Linked DNA regions of Homo sapiens: all the other regions are linked to region 3. Evidence: promoter capture Hi-C in 16 types of primary human blood cells and fetal thymus (Javierre and others, 2016). All regions are on one chromosome and are shown on one strand. The core of a region is centred on a gene start or on the middle of the fragment in contact, and the rest is flanking DNA. Distances in the headings are between cores, read along the strand shown.

The links. Contacts are between HindIII fragments. The CHiCAGO score rates a contact against its expected background, and 5 or more counts as called.
Region 1: the fragment with the promoter of ZNF616 here is called in contact with the fragment with the promoter of ZNF677 in region 3 in 1 of 17 cell types (M2 macrophages); the score reaches 5.9 in M2 macrophages.
Region 2: a contact is called between a fragment that was not itself captured here and the fragment with the promoter of ZNF677 in region 3, in 1 of 17 cell types (total CD4 T cells). The highest score is 5.1, in total CD4 T cells.

The regions. Positions count from the first base shown.
Region 1 is chr19:52,138,669-52,143,564 of GRCh38, forward strand. ZNF616 (zinc finger protein 616) reads right to left here and starts at 1,270. Exons shown (of 4, transcript NM_178523.5): 1 at 1,064-1,270. It also overlaps the pseudogene RPL37P23. RefSeq lists an enhancer at 866-1,105 and silencers at 1,226-1,505, 1,516-1,565. The HindIII fragment of the contact is 2,387 bases long and covers 1-1,613 here.
Region 2 is chr19:51,859,285-51,863,848 of GRCh38, forward strand. It overlaps a transcript of ZNF577 not described here and the pseudogene LOC100419706. Among named protein-coding and RNA genes, the nearest start is that of ZNF577, 26 kb to the right of the region's middle. The HindIII fragment of the contact is 409 bases long and covers 1,362-1,770 here.
Region 3 is chr19:53,253,430-53,257,703 of GRCh38, forward strand. ZNF677 (zinc finger protein 677) reads right to left here and starts at 1,444. Exons shown (of 5, transcript NM_182609.4): 1 at 1,405-1,444. The HindIII fragment of the contact is 13,972 bases long and covers 1-4,274 here.

The DNA of each region.
Region 1 (4,896 bases), core at 20-2,519, 1.1 Mb before region 3:
TTCCTGCCTCTTTTCCCCCATCTGAGCTCCCTGTCTGCTCTCCCTGTTAAAATCCCTCTTCCCTGTTAAATTCCCTTTTCCCTGTTACATCTCCTTTGTTCCCACTCTCTAGCACCCCCAACTTCCTAGGCTTCCTCCTTGCTGTGGTTCTCCCTCTACTCTCCTTTGTTACCCACTCCCCTCTCCTTCAGTCCCAGCACCACGTGGCTCTGTCAGCCGCGGCTCCGACTCTTACCTTTTCCGCCCCCCGCGTCTGACTGCAGTGCCTCCTCCTTTGCCGCCCCTCTCTATTTTGCTGCCCTTCAGCTCCCTGAAGCTCTCCCTTTTCCCTAATTTCTTTATGTGCTTTTCTCCCCGTGCTACTTTCTCCATGCGTCCTCTTGCACTCTTGCTCTCTTTGCCAGTACCTAAATTATCATCCATTTTGCCGTGTACTCATTCTTTTCTCCCCAGTTTTTCTTTCTGTCCCGTCGCTCCCCCTCTTTTCCTCTCCTGATCCCTCTCACCCACACATTCAGGAGGAAAGGGGAGGAATACGATGCCCACCTCCCGGAAGAGCACATTTTCCAGTGGAGTAAAAATTTGGGAAGGAACGACAGTGGGTGTCACAAGACAGACTCGGGTGACCTCCTGCAACGCGGAGTCAGGAAAAGCAGTGGCTGTGAAGGGGCAGCCTGGGGAGGGGAAGGACCCGGCGTGAGGAGGACACTAGGTGGCGCGCGGAGGACACTAGGTGGCGCGGGGGACGGTGTCTCAGGACAGGGAGGGTCTGCAGAATCCCAGGACCTGGGAGAAGAAGCGGCTCCTTCAGGAGCTGGGCAGCGGGCGCTCCCCTCCAGGCGTCGACAAGGGCGAAGCTCGGGGGTCTCGACTGGTGGGAATCCACCTCGCGAGGGAGGACTTGACTTCGCCCGGGGCCGAAGCAGGGGTCAATGAGAGTTTTAAGCAGGAACACGACCTGAATGGGGTTATCGACATGGTTATCTACATGGCAGAAAGGCAGGGGGCAAGGAACAGCCTGAGAGAGATTTTAAACCGACAGGGAAGCAATTCTCGGACTTACGTGGGGAGAAGTGCCTGTTGCAGGGGCGAAGGGGCTATGGGTATTTTAAGGTCCGTAGCGATCCCCAGATCACTGGTACGGAGAAGTGAGGACTGCAAAGTGCACGTTTAATCCAGGCAGACGGAGCGAAGTAATGTTTAATCCACGTAGACTGAAACACACACACAGCGATAAGGCCTTTCCCTGGCGCAATCTGCTTCCGGGAGTGACGGAAACTGCTAGCGGAGAGAAAAAACTGGGAGGCCAGGGGGCGGGGCCTGGGCGAGCCGCGACCAGCAAGGGGCGGGTCGGAAAGAGGGGCCTGACTCGGGGAGGGACCCTGAGAGGGTGGAGCCGGGCCGGAGCGGCAGTGGGCGTGGCTAGGTGGGGCGGGACGGAGCCGCGGCGGAGGATGGGGCGGGGTTTCATGGGGTAAGCGGGGCCGAAATAGAGCCTGTTATTTACTCTGGTTCACAGGCAGCATGTCTTTGGTTTTCTGACTACTTCTTGTCCTGTGAAGCAGCGTTGCTGCCTGCCTATTTTAAGTTAATGTTTCAAAATTTAAGGTTAAAGCTTAAAGTTGTGGTCCACTTATATTAGAAACTAAGATGATTTCTTAACAAGTTGAACTAAGTCAAAACCGATTTTTACAAGCTTGGTGGACTCCATCCACTCTTGCCGATGATGCTGAAGCTACTCAATAGTCAGGGAACTAGGATCTCGCTGGGGATTTGATGTGGAGCCGTGGCTGGATCCAGGAACCCGGAAGACATTATGCCAAGCGAAATATGCTAGACACAGAAAGACAAATACTGCCTGTGCTTTTACACGTGCAAAGTACAAACGTCAAATTTACAGTAACAGATTAGAAGGGTGGTTACCAGGGCTGGGGGATGTATCCTATGCCTTTATCACCATTATATTTTGGAAGCAGATAACTTCTCTGGCCTCACAGATTCACAGCTGGGCAGAAATTTTGCCTCAGGATGAATCACACCTTGATTCTCACCCATGTGTGGTTCAGATAATATTTAGGGGGTATTCTGCCCTAAGAGCTGATACAGGAATGGATTAAGACTTTTGAGAGTTGATACTGAAATGGATTAAGTCTTTTGAGATGGGCCAGCAGTTTTGGAGGCCCAGGTGGGCAGGTCACTTGAGCTCAAGAGTTCAAAACCAGCCTGGACAGCATCGTGAGACCCCCATCTCTACAAGAAATACAAAAAGTAGCCAGGCTTGGTAATGCACTCTTGTAGTCCCAGCTACTTGGGAAGCTGAGGTGTCAGAATTGCTTGAGGCCAGGGATTTGAGATCATCCTGGGCAACATAGCCAGACCTCTCTACAAAAAATTAAATTATCTGGACATGGTGGCCTGCACGTGTGGGCCCAGCAACTCGGAAGGGTAAGGAAGGAGGATCATTTGAGCCCAGGAGGTGAAGGCTGCAGTGAGCCATGAGAAGAGGAGATTTGGTTGGGTGCAGTGGCTAACGCCTATAATCCCCACACTTTGGGAGGCCAAGGTAGCAGGGAGCTAACTTGCATTCTTCTGTTAGCTGAGGCGTTTGATGATAAATGAAAGCAGAAAGTTTGTGACTTATTTACGTTCTTTCCACAGAAAGGCCATATGTCCTTGGCCATAAAGAAAAAGAGACCTACAGCTTATCTGCTTCCTCTATTTTTTTTTATATGTTCTGGACCATGAAGAAAGATTTATAGCTTATTTGCTTTATCTCTTTGCTTTCTCCTGGTCCTTTCAGGCTGACTCCTTTTCCCCAATTAGGGCTCCACAGACTCTACCCTCAAAGGGCATTTTTTTCTCACCCTCCTATAAAATCCCTCCCACAAATAAACCAGGATCCTATTTCCCAGCATGAAAAGTTTGTTGGAAAAAAAACTGAGGCTGCATGGGACCTTCTTTCTCTTCTTCAAAACTACTTCACCTCTTCTCTCTTTTGTCTCTCTCTTCCTAACTGCCCTGCACAATTCTAGGTCCCCAGTGAATCCTTGGGTTGACATGCAAGGGAAGAACCCATAGGGAAAGGAAATCTCTGGCTTTCAGAGATAACTTTTTGGATATCTGGATGCATTCATAACCATCCTTGTGTTACCAGAAAGGGGTCCTGATCCAGAACCTGAAACTTCCATTGCACAATTATAACTGAGAAAATTATTACAGTGAAAGAGATCTGACCTAATCAACTCCATCTTGCTTTTAACCTCCAAGCTGCTCTTGTTCATTCCTGGGCATAGGCTGAACTAACTTTGGAAGGAACTTAGTTTATAGTTTGAAACAAAGACATTAACAGCCCTTTCCCAAAACAAACCCCCTTCCTGCTTGGGGACTAGACTGCCTTTGTAAGACTAACAAATTAGGCACAAGGTGAGAGATGATGGTTTAGGAGTCATGTAGCTGGAGGCTACAAGATTCTCACCCTTCCCAGATTGTTCCTGGGGATAACATTACTATTATAAAACCTAAGATCAGTGCTTGAGATATTTTGCATTCCCTGCACTTGATGGATCACCTGACACCAACCCAGATCCATAAACTGGCTCATCTGGTCTTGTGACCCCACCCAGGAACTGACTCAGTGCAAAATGACAGCTTCAGATCTCTATGATTTCGTCTCCTACCCAACCAATCAGCACTCCCGACTCACTGACACCTACCTATCAAATTATCCTTAAAAACCCTGATCCCCGAGTTTTCAGGGAGACTCATGTGAGTAATAAAAAAATTTCAGGTTCCTGTACAGCCAGCTCCACATGAATTAAACTCTCTCTTGCAATTCCCCTGTCTTGATGAATCAGCTCTGTCTAGGCAGCAGGGAAGGAGAACCTGTTGGGCAGTTACAACCAAAAGGGAGGGTTCTTGGATCTCATGCAAGAAAGAATTAGGGGTGAGTTCACACTGTAAAGTGAAAGCAAGTTTACTAAGCAAGTAAAGGAACAAGGCAGGGTGCAGTGGCTCACGCCTGTAATCCCAGCACATTGAGAGAGGCTGAGGTGGGCAGATTGCTTGAACCCAGGAGTTCAAGAGCAACCTGGGCAACATTACAAAACTCTATCTCTACAAAAAATACAAAAATTAGCCAAGGGTAATGGTGTGCACCAGTAGTCCAAGCTAGTTGGAAGGCTGAGGTTGGAAATTGCTTGAGCCTGGGAGAATTTTTTTTTTTGAGGCAGTGTCTGGCTCCGGTCACCCAAGCAGTAGTGCAGTAATGCCATCTCGGCTCAGACTCTAATTCAACACGGAATGTTGAGCTTCTGAGCGTGATATAGCGGAAGTGCCTTCTCTTCCGGTCTCTCTGGTCTTGGCCGCAGAAGCCAGATGACGAAGGGAACGTCATTGTTTGGAAAGCGTCGCAATAAGACGCACACGTTGTGTTGCCGCCGTGGCTCTAAGGCCTACCACCTTCAGAAGTCGACCTGTGGCAAATGTGGCTACGCTGCCAAGCGCAAGAGAAAGTATAACTGGAGTGCCAAGGCTAAAAGACAAAATACCACCGGAACTGGTGGAATGAGGCACCTAAAAATTGTATACCACAGATTCAGGCATGGATTCTATGAAGGAACAATACTTAAACCCAAGAGGGCAGCTGTTGCAGCATCCAGTTCATCTTAAGAATGTCTATGATTAGTCATGCAATAAATGTTCTGGTTTTAAAAAATACAAAAAAAAATACTGAATGTTTACTCCTGAAACTTATGATGCCTAGGTTGAGAAAGACTCAATTTTCCTCATGCTAAATACTTTATACATGTCCTTTATTCATGCATACATAGGACACTTTACACAATATAATTGTTGAAAGTGCTTCTGAAATACTGTTCAAATTGTCTATAATATTTT
Region 2 (4,564 bases), core at 316-2,815, 1.4 Mb before region 3:
TTGTGAACAGTGCTATAAACATTCATGGACAAATATTTGGTTGAGTACCTGTTTTCAATTCTCATGGGTATTTTACTTAGGAATGGAATTCCTGGGTCATATGGTAAGTCTGGATTTAACTTTTTGAGGAACCACCAAAGGAATGGCATATTATCATAACAAATCAAAAGTTTCGGTGTGACACAAACTTGAAATATATAGCCATAAACTCACCTCATATAACCTCACACTTTTTTCTTCCATTACTCTAATGTGTTGCTGGTTTTTAAATATTTTAGGTAAATCTTTTATAATCTTTGGATGTTTCAGAGTTATAAGGCTCTAGAAAAATGTAAACTTCTACTTGTGATGGATCATCACAGTGGGCAAAAATACTACAAATGACAGCAAAAATAAGGAATTCACACTTACGTGGTATAATCCTTTAGACTCCTTAATAATGAGTCAAATATGTATTACAAGACATTTTGATTCATAAGAAAAAAACATTTTATTTGCACTACATTGAATTATTCAACATTTTGTCTTATGTTGAGAATTTCTTTAACCCTGAAAATTGTTTCTTCGTGTAATTCCAAGTAAACAATGAAGTTTATAAATATATAAAGTACATGTCACATAGTACAGTCCACAACACAACCCCTAAGATCCTTTGTCACTATTCGACTAATCCTTATTATATTCTTATTTTTCATATATTCAAAAGGAATATTTGACAATGAAATGTCTAATATTTATAGAATATTCTCTGGAATCCTTTCTATAATAATTATGCAAAACCATTATAAAATTATATATACAGGCAAGGGTAATTACTCAAATCTAAAGTGCCATCACACATTTAAAAAGCCCTGACAATTACTATGACATTCCAGATCATAAGATGCTTCACAATTTAAGACATGGTAGGATGTGAAGAAGTGAATCCATGAAATAAAAAATAACTTATCACTGATGCTTTTACCACTTTCACTGCATTCATAAAATCTCTGTATGGAGCAAATTCTGCTCCTATATTTAAAAGCTTGTGATGTTTAATGCTATCTAATCCTCCACAGAAATTATTTCCTGTGACCAGAACCATTGCTTTTAGGTAAATGTATGACTCTGCTGAAGCAGAATAGATATGGCTCCATTAGGATTTTATACCTGCATTGAACCTAAATATTATTGCCTTCGAGAATAGGATCTTTCTGATAACTGAGTTAGGGGGCAATTCAGCTCTGAATTTTAAATAAAGAATTTTAGACAATCACTGCAATTCTTTCCTGCTATGCAATGGGTTTTGTGGCCAATGGCCAAGTTTAACTCTATCGTTTTCCCTTCTGATTTAAGTATCTGATGTATATGTCACTTTCAAAAGCTTTCCACATTCCGTTTCAGAAGGACCTATCTACCACATGAGTTTGCTGATATAATTAGTGACCTTTGGTATCTACATGAAGGCTTTACCACATTTACTATATTAATAGGGGTTTCCTCTTGTATGAGTTTGCTATAACAAGAAAGATAAACATTAACTGGGAAGACTTTATCACAATCACATTCACTGTATCTATGAGATTTCTCTCGTAAACAAGATATTCAAAGAGTTTTGACTTTCAGATTTTAATTTTTACCTGCAATGAGGTGTGATTCTTCTTAGCTTTCCTGCATTCCCTCCATCTGTAGGGTCCTTCTCCTGAATGAATACCCTAATGTGTAACAAATATAATTTGAGAATGATTTATCATTTTCATTACATCCACTGGTGCTGCCTACTAAATGGAAAGCTTCTAGTTTTCTAATAAACTTTTTTGACAATCACTGCACTCATAATTGACTCTCTCTTTTTTTTTTTTTTTTTTTTTTTGAGACAGAGTCTCACTCTGTCACCCAGGCTGGAGTACACTGGTGCAATCTCGGCTTACTGCAACCTCCACCTCCTAGGTTCAAGAGATTCTCCTGCCTCAGCCTCCTGAGTAGTTAGGATTACAGGTGTGCACACCACACCTGGCTATTTGTTTTTTTTTTTTTTTGTATTTTTAGTAGAGACAGGGTTTCATCATGTTGGCCAGGCTGGTCTCGAACTCCCAACCTCAAGTGATCTGCCTGCTTCAGCCTCCCAAAGTGCTGAGATAACAGGCATGGGCCAATGCGCCTGGCCAATGATTCTTCTTGTGAGATCTCTACGGTAAACGAGGGATATCTTCAAAAAAGAAGGCTTAAAATATTCATTGCATCTATAAGGTTTCTCTCCCACAAGAGTTCCAAAAGGGCCCATTACAATCATAGTATTCATGGAACTTCTATTGTGTCTGAGCTGATGTGACTAATCAAAAAAGCTCTCTCATATTCCAAGTCACTGCATGGACTTTCTTCCTTCCTGCTGGGGTTTCTGATGATTAGTAATAGCTGATTTCTGAGTAAAGCTTTTTGACATTCACTGCATCTATAGGGCCTCTTTCCTGTGTGAGTTCTCTGGTGACCAATGAGAGTTTACAAAGTAGCGAATGCTTTCTTACAATCACTGCATTTATATGGTTTCTCTCCTGTATGAATTCTCTAATGTACAGTGAGACAGGATTTAACTATGATGGCTTTATTACACATGCTACATTTGAGGAGTTTCTCACCTGTATAGGTTCTCTGTTATATAATGAGAGTTGACTTACAGGACAAAACCTTCCCACATCCACTGTATCCATAAGATTTCATTCTTGCATGGCAAGTTTTTCGATGCTTACTGAGACCTGTCTTTTGGGTGAAAGCTTGTTGACCTTCATTGCATCATAGGGTCTCTCTCCTGTGTGAATTGGCTGATGAGTCATGAGATATACCTTACTGGAGAAGGCCCTATCACAGTCTGAGCATTCATATGATTTATTTCCTATATGAGTTCTCTGATATACAATGAGATTTCCCTTTGATGTGAAGGCTTTATCACATACATTGCATTTGAAGGGTTTCTCACCTGTATGGGTTCTCTGATGTATAACAAAGTTTTTTTTGGAGGATAAAACCTTCCCACATTCACTGCATTCATGGGATTTCCTTACTGCATGATGAGTTTTCTTATGATTGTTGAGATCCAACTTCCAGATGAAAGCTTCTTGACATTCACTGCATCCATAGGGTCTTTCTTCTGTATGAATTCACTGATGCTTCATAAGCTGAGCCTTTTTCAAGAAGGCTTTCTCATAATCCAAGCAAGCATATGGTTTCTCTCCTGTGTGAGTTCTCTGATGTATAGTTAGCTGTGTTCTAACCATGAAGGCTTTATGATAGACTTTGCACCTGAAAGGTCTCTCTCCTGAATGAGTTCTGAGATGCAAAATGAGGTTCGACTTCCAAGGAAAAGCTTTCCCACATTTACTGCATCCATAGAATTTTCCTTTTCTATGAAGAACTTTCTGAGGATAACTGAGCTCAGATCTGGTCTTCAAAGCTGTTTGACATTGAATGCATTAATAGGGTATCTCTCCTGTGTGAATTCACTGATGAATCATGAATAAAGCCTTTTTTGAGAAGGCTTTTTCACAATCTGAGCAAGCATATGGTTTCTCTCCTGTGTGAGCTCTCTGATGTACAGTGAGATGTGTCCTAACCACAAAGCCTTTATCACATACTTTGCAAATGAACGGTCTCTCTCCTGAATGATTTCTTTGACATAAAATGAGTTCTGACTTCCAAGGGAAAACTTCTCCACATTTGCTGCATGTACAGACTTTCCCTTCTCTATGATGAGTTTTCTGATGATACACAAGCCCTGAATTTGTAATGAAGGCTTTTTGACATTGATTGCATCAGTAGGGTCTCACTCCTGTTTGAGTTTGCTGATGAGCAATGAGCTTTAACTCACTGGGAAGGGCTCTCCTAAAATCATGAGATTCCTGGGATTTGTTTCCTGCATGAGTTCTCTGAGGCATGGTCATGAGTAGTTTACAAGTATTCACTGCACATTCACTGCATCCATATGATTTCTTTCCAAAAAGAATTGGTTATAATTAGCAAGCTCTGACTTCTGGATGTTATGAAAGCTAGTGTACGCACAACAGAGTAAGTGAGATAACAAGAAGAGGTCCAGAAAAAGGCTTCTTTTCCCATTTACCATAAAAAGATATTAGTAAGATGGTTAAATTTGAGTAAGCTCTGTATTTTAAATAATAATACTATATCAATGTCAATATTCTGATTTTGATCACAGTATTCTGATTATGCAAAAGAATGCTCTTCTTCCTATGAAATACACACTTGGGTTTTAGGGTAGAGTTCAGAAAAACCATATGTACCTGTGTGTGGTGTGTGTGTATAGATAAAATAAAGCAAATTGGTAAAATCATATTTTGGGGAAATTTGCAAAAAGAATGTGCAAGAATTTTGTGTATCATTTTGGAACATCTCATTAAATCTAGACCATTTGGAGACAAGCATTTTCAAAAGGAGAAAATAAAAATAAAGATATTGATGAAAACATACATAGGGACACTAAGTATAATGGCCTGAATGTAAAAGAGATAAACAGTGTAATATTCACCCAATGCCATTCTGCACAGGACTCAGATTCTTGATCTAGGTGCTGGTT
Region 3 (4,274 bases), core at 194-2,693:
GCCTGTAATCCCAGTGCTTTGAGAGGCGGAGACAGATCACCTGAGGTCAGGAGTTCGAGACCAGCCTGGCTAACAAGGTGAAAATCCCGTCTCTGCTAAAAATACAAATTCACCGGGCATGGTGGCGCATGCCTTTAATCCCAGCCACTCGGGAGGCTAAGGCAGGAGAATCGCTTGAACCCTGGAGGCGGAGGTTGCAGTGAGCCGAGATCAAGCCACTGCACTCCAGCCTGGGTGACAGAGTGAGACTCCGTCTCAAAAAAATAAATAAATAAATAAAAGAAAGCAAAAGAAAGCATTTAAACCTCATAAGCTGAACAATACATTTAAGAGAAAATACTTTGAAAATTTTTTTTAAATCCAATAAATTATGGAATTACATTTAAGACAAGTTGAATACACGTCAAATTTAGAAAATGACACAAGCCACACACAAAAAAGGAGGGAATAATATTGTTAATGTCTGTTTGCAAAAGCAGCATACGGTGTCACAGTTTCTTCCCATTTCTTGACTCTCCTCAAGATCAGAGAAAGGGAAGAGGGTGAGCTGGAATTAACTGAGCTAAGTCAGTTAACCCTCTGGCTGAATAAGGGTTGCTTCTGATGTAATAATTAGAAAACGCAGAAGCCTCACACCGTAGTTTTGCAATTTTCATGCTCTTCTGCACAAACAATGAAGCAAATTTTAAATTAATTATAGAGCCATACATCAGTACTTCACAACTTAATGTTCCATATTAAATCAATCCACACTCACATGGATTTGGGTGCCCCCCCCTTTCTCCACCATTATGTGATTTTTTTCCCCCTCTCTATAAATGTTTCTCTTCCACCTTCTGTTTCTTTCCTTTTCTTTTTCCCATTTCGGCGTTTTCCTGTCCCTTTCTGCTCATTTGGCTTCCCTTCCTCTCCTTCTCTGACAGAGTGTTTGGCCCCATCCTGGTAGCATCCTTTTTTTCAGTCCCTGCTATTGTTTCTGATGGCTCTCTAATTTCGCGCATTTCTCCCTCTTTATCCTCCATTTCTGCTTCCCCTCTGTTCTCCCTGGAGAAGGGCGAAGGGTGTGTATCCACCCCGAGTGAGGGCTTTACCAGGGGGAGGGAAGAGGGAGTCAGAGAAGAGTTTTAAGCAGAGAAACGACGCGGTGGGCGGTCGGTGTCCACACTGACCTAAAGCAAAAAGGTCGGGGCCAGTACCCACTTCAGAACGATTTTAATCCGAAATGGACGCAGATCTCTAGACCCTCTCGGAGCGACGGGACTGGGAACGTCTTAGGGCCACGCCGCGAGAGGAATGAGCAGGTTCGGGGTTTTAACCTACAGGGCGACCCCAAAACCCGACAGCGGAGCGTGGGAACCTGTGGCCCGCGAGGCGCAGGCTTGAACCCGAAAGACGGAGACTCACCCGAGAGCGCCAGTAGCCCCGCGAGATCCGCTTCCGGGTCGGCAGGAACCTGCGCGTACGCGAGTGCACTGGGGCGGCGCAAGGGGCAAGGGCAGGGGCAGGGCGCGGACAACTGTGGGGATGGGCGGGCAAATGGCGGGGATGGGCGGGGACAATGGCGGGATGGGCGGGGACAATGGCGGGATGGGCGGGGCCTAGGGGTCGGACTGCCGGACCTCTCCTCGGCGCGTCCCAGCGACTTTTTTAGGCCTGTTTGTCGCCCAGCAGTACTCGATTCTTCACTTTTGGATTCCCTTGAATCTCTATGGTGTCCTTTGGAGCCTAGCTAAGTAAAAAATTAGAGACCTGTGGGCCCCTTATATTGGAATCGGAGCTTAAGATGGGAAAGGTTTGCTTGAAAACGTTTCTGCGAGCGATGGAGGCGCGTCCTGCGACGAGGCGGGAGGAGCGCTGGGACCTGGTGGATGGGAGAGGGCGACGGTATAAGGAAGCTCTTGGATCCAGGAACTTCTGAAATCCGGACGATTAAAATTTGTATTTAATTAAGCGAAAGCTGGAGTTGTCTGCGTAGGTGATGGAAACTGGAATGAGATGCATTTTTGTGCCTGTGCGGAGTGTACAATTTTATATTGACTTTCACTGGAACGTAATTTTTATTTCCGCTCCCCAGTCACCCAGGAGGCAGAGATGCACCATGGGCTGAGTTCCAGAGAATTTATGGGGTCAGACCCTGGGCGGTGGGGGGTGGAAGGCTGAGGCTTGGCTTTAAAAGAACGCAAAGTTCTGCTTGTATCGATCTAAATTTATTTTCCTTTATTATCCTAATGCACATTTCTTGAGATAAATTACAAATCCAAGTGCTGGATTTATTGGAGTTGGTATGTTGTGTTTTGTCTAAGTTATTAATTACTAATATACTATCGTTATTATTATTTTTATTATTATTTTGAGATGGAGTCTCTGTTTCCCAGGCTGGATTGTAATGGCGCGATCTCGGCTCACGGCAACCTACGCCTCCTGGGTCAAGCGATTTTCCTGCCTCAGCCTCCCGAGTACCTGGGACTACAGGCGTGTGCCACCATGCCTGGCTAATTTTTGCATTTTTAGTAGAGACGGGGTTTCACCACGTTAGCCAGGTTGGTCTGGGACCCCTGAGCTCATGTGATCCGCCCACCTGGGCCTCATGAAGTGCTGGGGTTATAGGCGTGAGCCACCGCTCCTGGCCTTTAGTCTGTAAAGTCTTTATTCTCAGTTATTTGGAAGAGTATTTTTAACATAATATGTGCTTGGCAATTCTCCTGGCCAACTGAATTGATTTCTCTTGGGCCCAGAGAGGAAACTTATTGACTGGAGGCTCCCCAAGAGAAGATGAGCCCATATGGGGGTATCTGAGTAAACCAAGGTCTATCCACTGTCTCTTTGGGTCTCTGTTTTCGTAACTGGGAATTACATCTGATAACAGGTGAAGGGTGAAAAAAAAATGAGAGTGCATTTTAGCATAAAAATACATATATGTTATTTACATATAAACATACACATATAAAAATTCTATTTATTTTACATATAAAAATACATATATGTATTTAAATTTTTTTTTTTTGAGACGGAGTCTCACCCGTACAGACGGGGTTTCACCGTATTAGCTACGATGTCTCGATCTTTTGACCTTGTGACCCACCCATCTTGGCCTCCCAAAGTGCTGGGATTACAGGTGTGAGCCACAGCGCCCAGCCTCTTTCTCTTTTCAATGTATTAAATGCACAAGATTCCATACTTTCAAATTCCATTTTGCAGAATTATTATATTTTCATAGGTTTCCCAAATCAAATATTAATTCAAGTTTCAGTTAGTTGTTTTAAAATAATAAATATATAGTTACATAATCTTTAAAATGATTCGTTTTCTAGCCTAAAATGCTTTATCACCTTTTATGTTTCATGTCTCATATTTTAGTGCACACTCTACCTAATGTTGTACATTAATTTCCGTGATGGGTGCCGTAGTATTTTTAGTCTTTGCAGACAGTGAAATGAGTGTTTCTGCTGGTATCTTAACATCTACTCACATTAAATACATTGGGTCATATGAAATTATTTAGTGCCTATTATAACTTATCAAGACCTATGAATATTCACTCATAAGTTATATTGATATGTAGAATAAATACTTTGACAAAAATAGGAAATTATCAAACCAAATTTATAAAGTGAACATGACAAATATTTATACATATGTAGGTGTGCGTGTATGTATGTGTGTGTGTATATGTATATATATGTGTGTATAGATATATAAAGGACACAACTAGGCAACTATTATAGCGTAGTAGTGAACACCAATGTTACTGCAACCAGGCTACTCACGTTCAAATCTTCACTCTTCTGGTATTTAAATGAGTCACCTAATCTCCTTGTGCTTAAACTCTTTTAGAGTTGGTGAAAGGAGAATAATATGAATTCCTACCTCATGGAGTTGTGAATATTAAATGTCAGAATAGGTACAGCATTTATAAAAGTCACTCATACATTGTAGGTGCTGTAAAAAGAAATACACGAAATGGGAAATTTGTTAACAATATATCTCTCTATATATTTCACTTTTAATATTCAGGGGGAAGAAATCGTCATAAGTGAAAGGTTATTTTCCATGAAAATGTGGCCCACAACTCGTGTTGCCATGCAGAACCTTCTGCTTACTCAATATTGAGTGCTGGAAAATGACAGAATGGCCTCTGTGGACCTGAAAATTGGAATGATCTTCCTATTTGTGGGCAGCAAGCCACCCAGCTGCCGAGGCAAGAGACCGAGGGCACGAGCTGTTCCAGCATAATAAAATATATAAAACAACAAGAGTTATATTAGATCTAGATC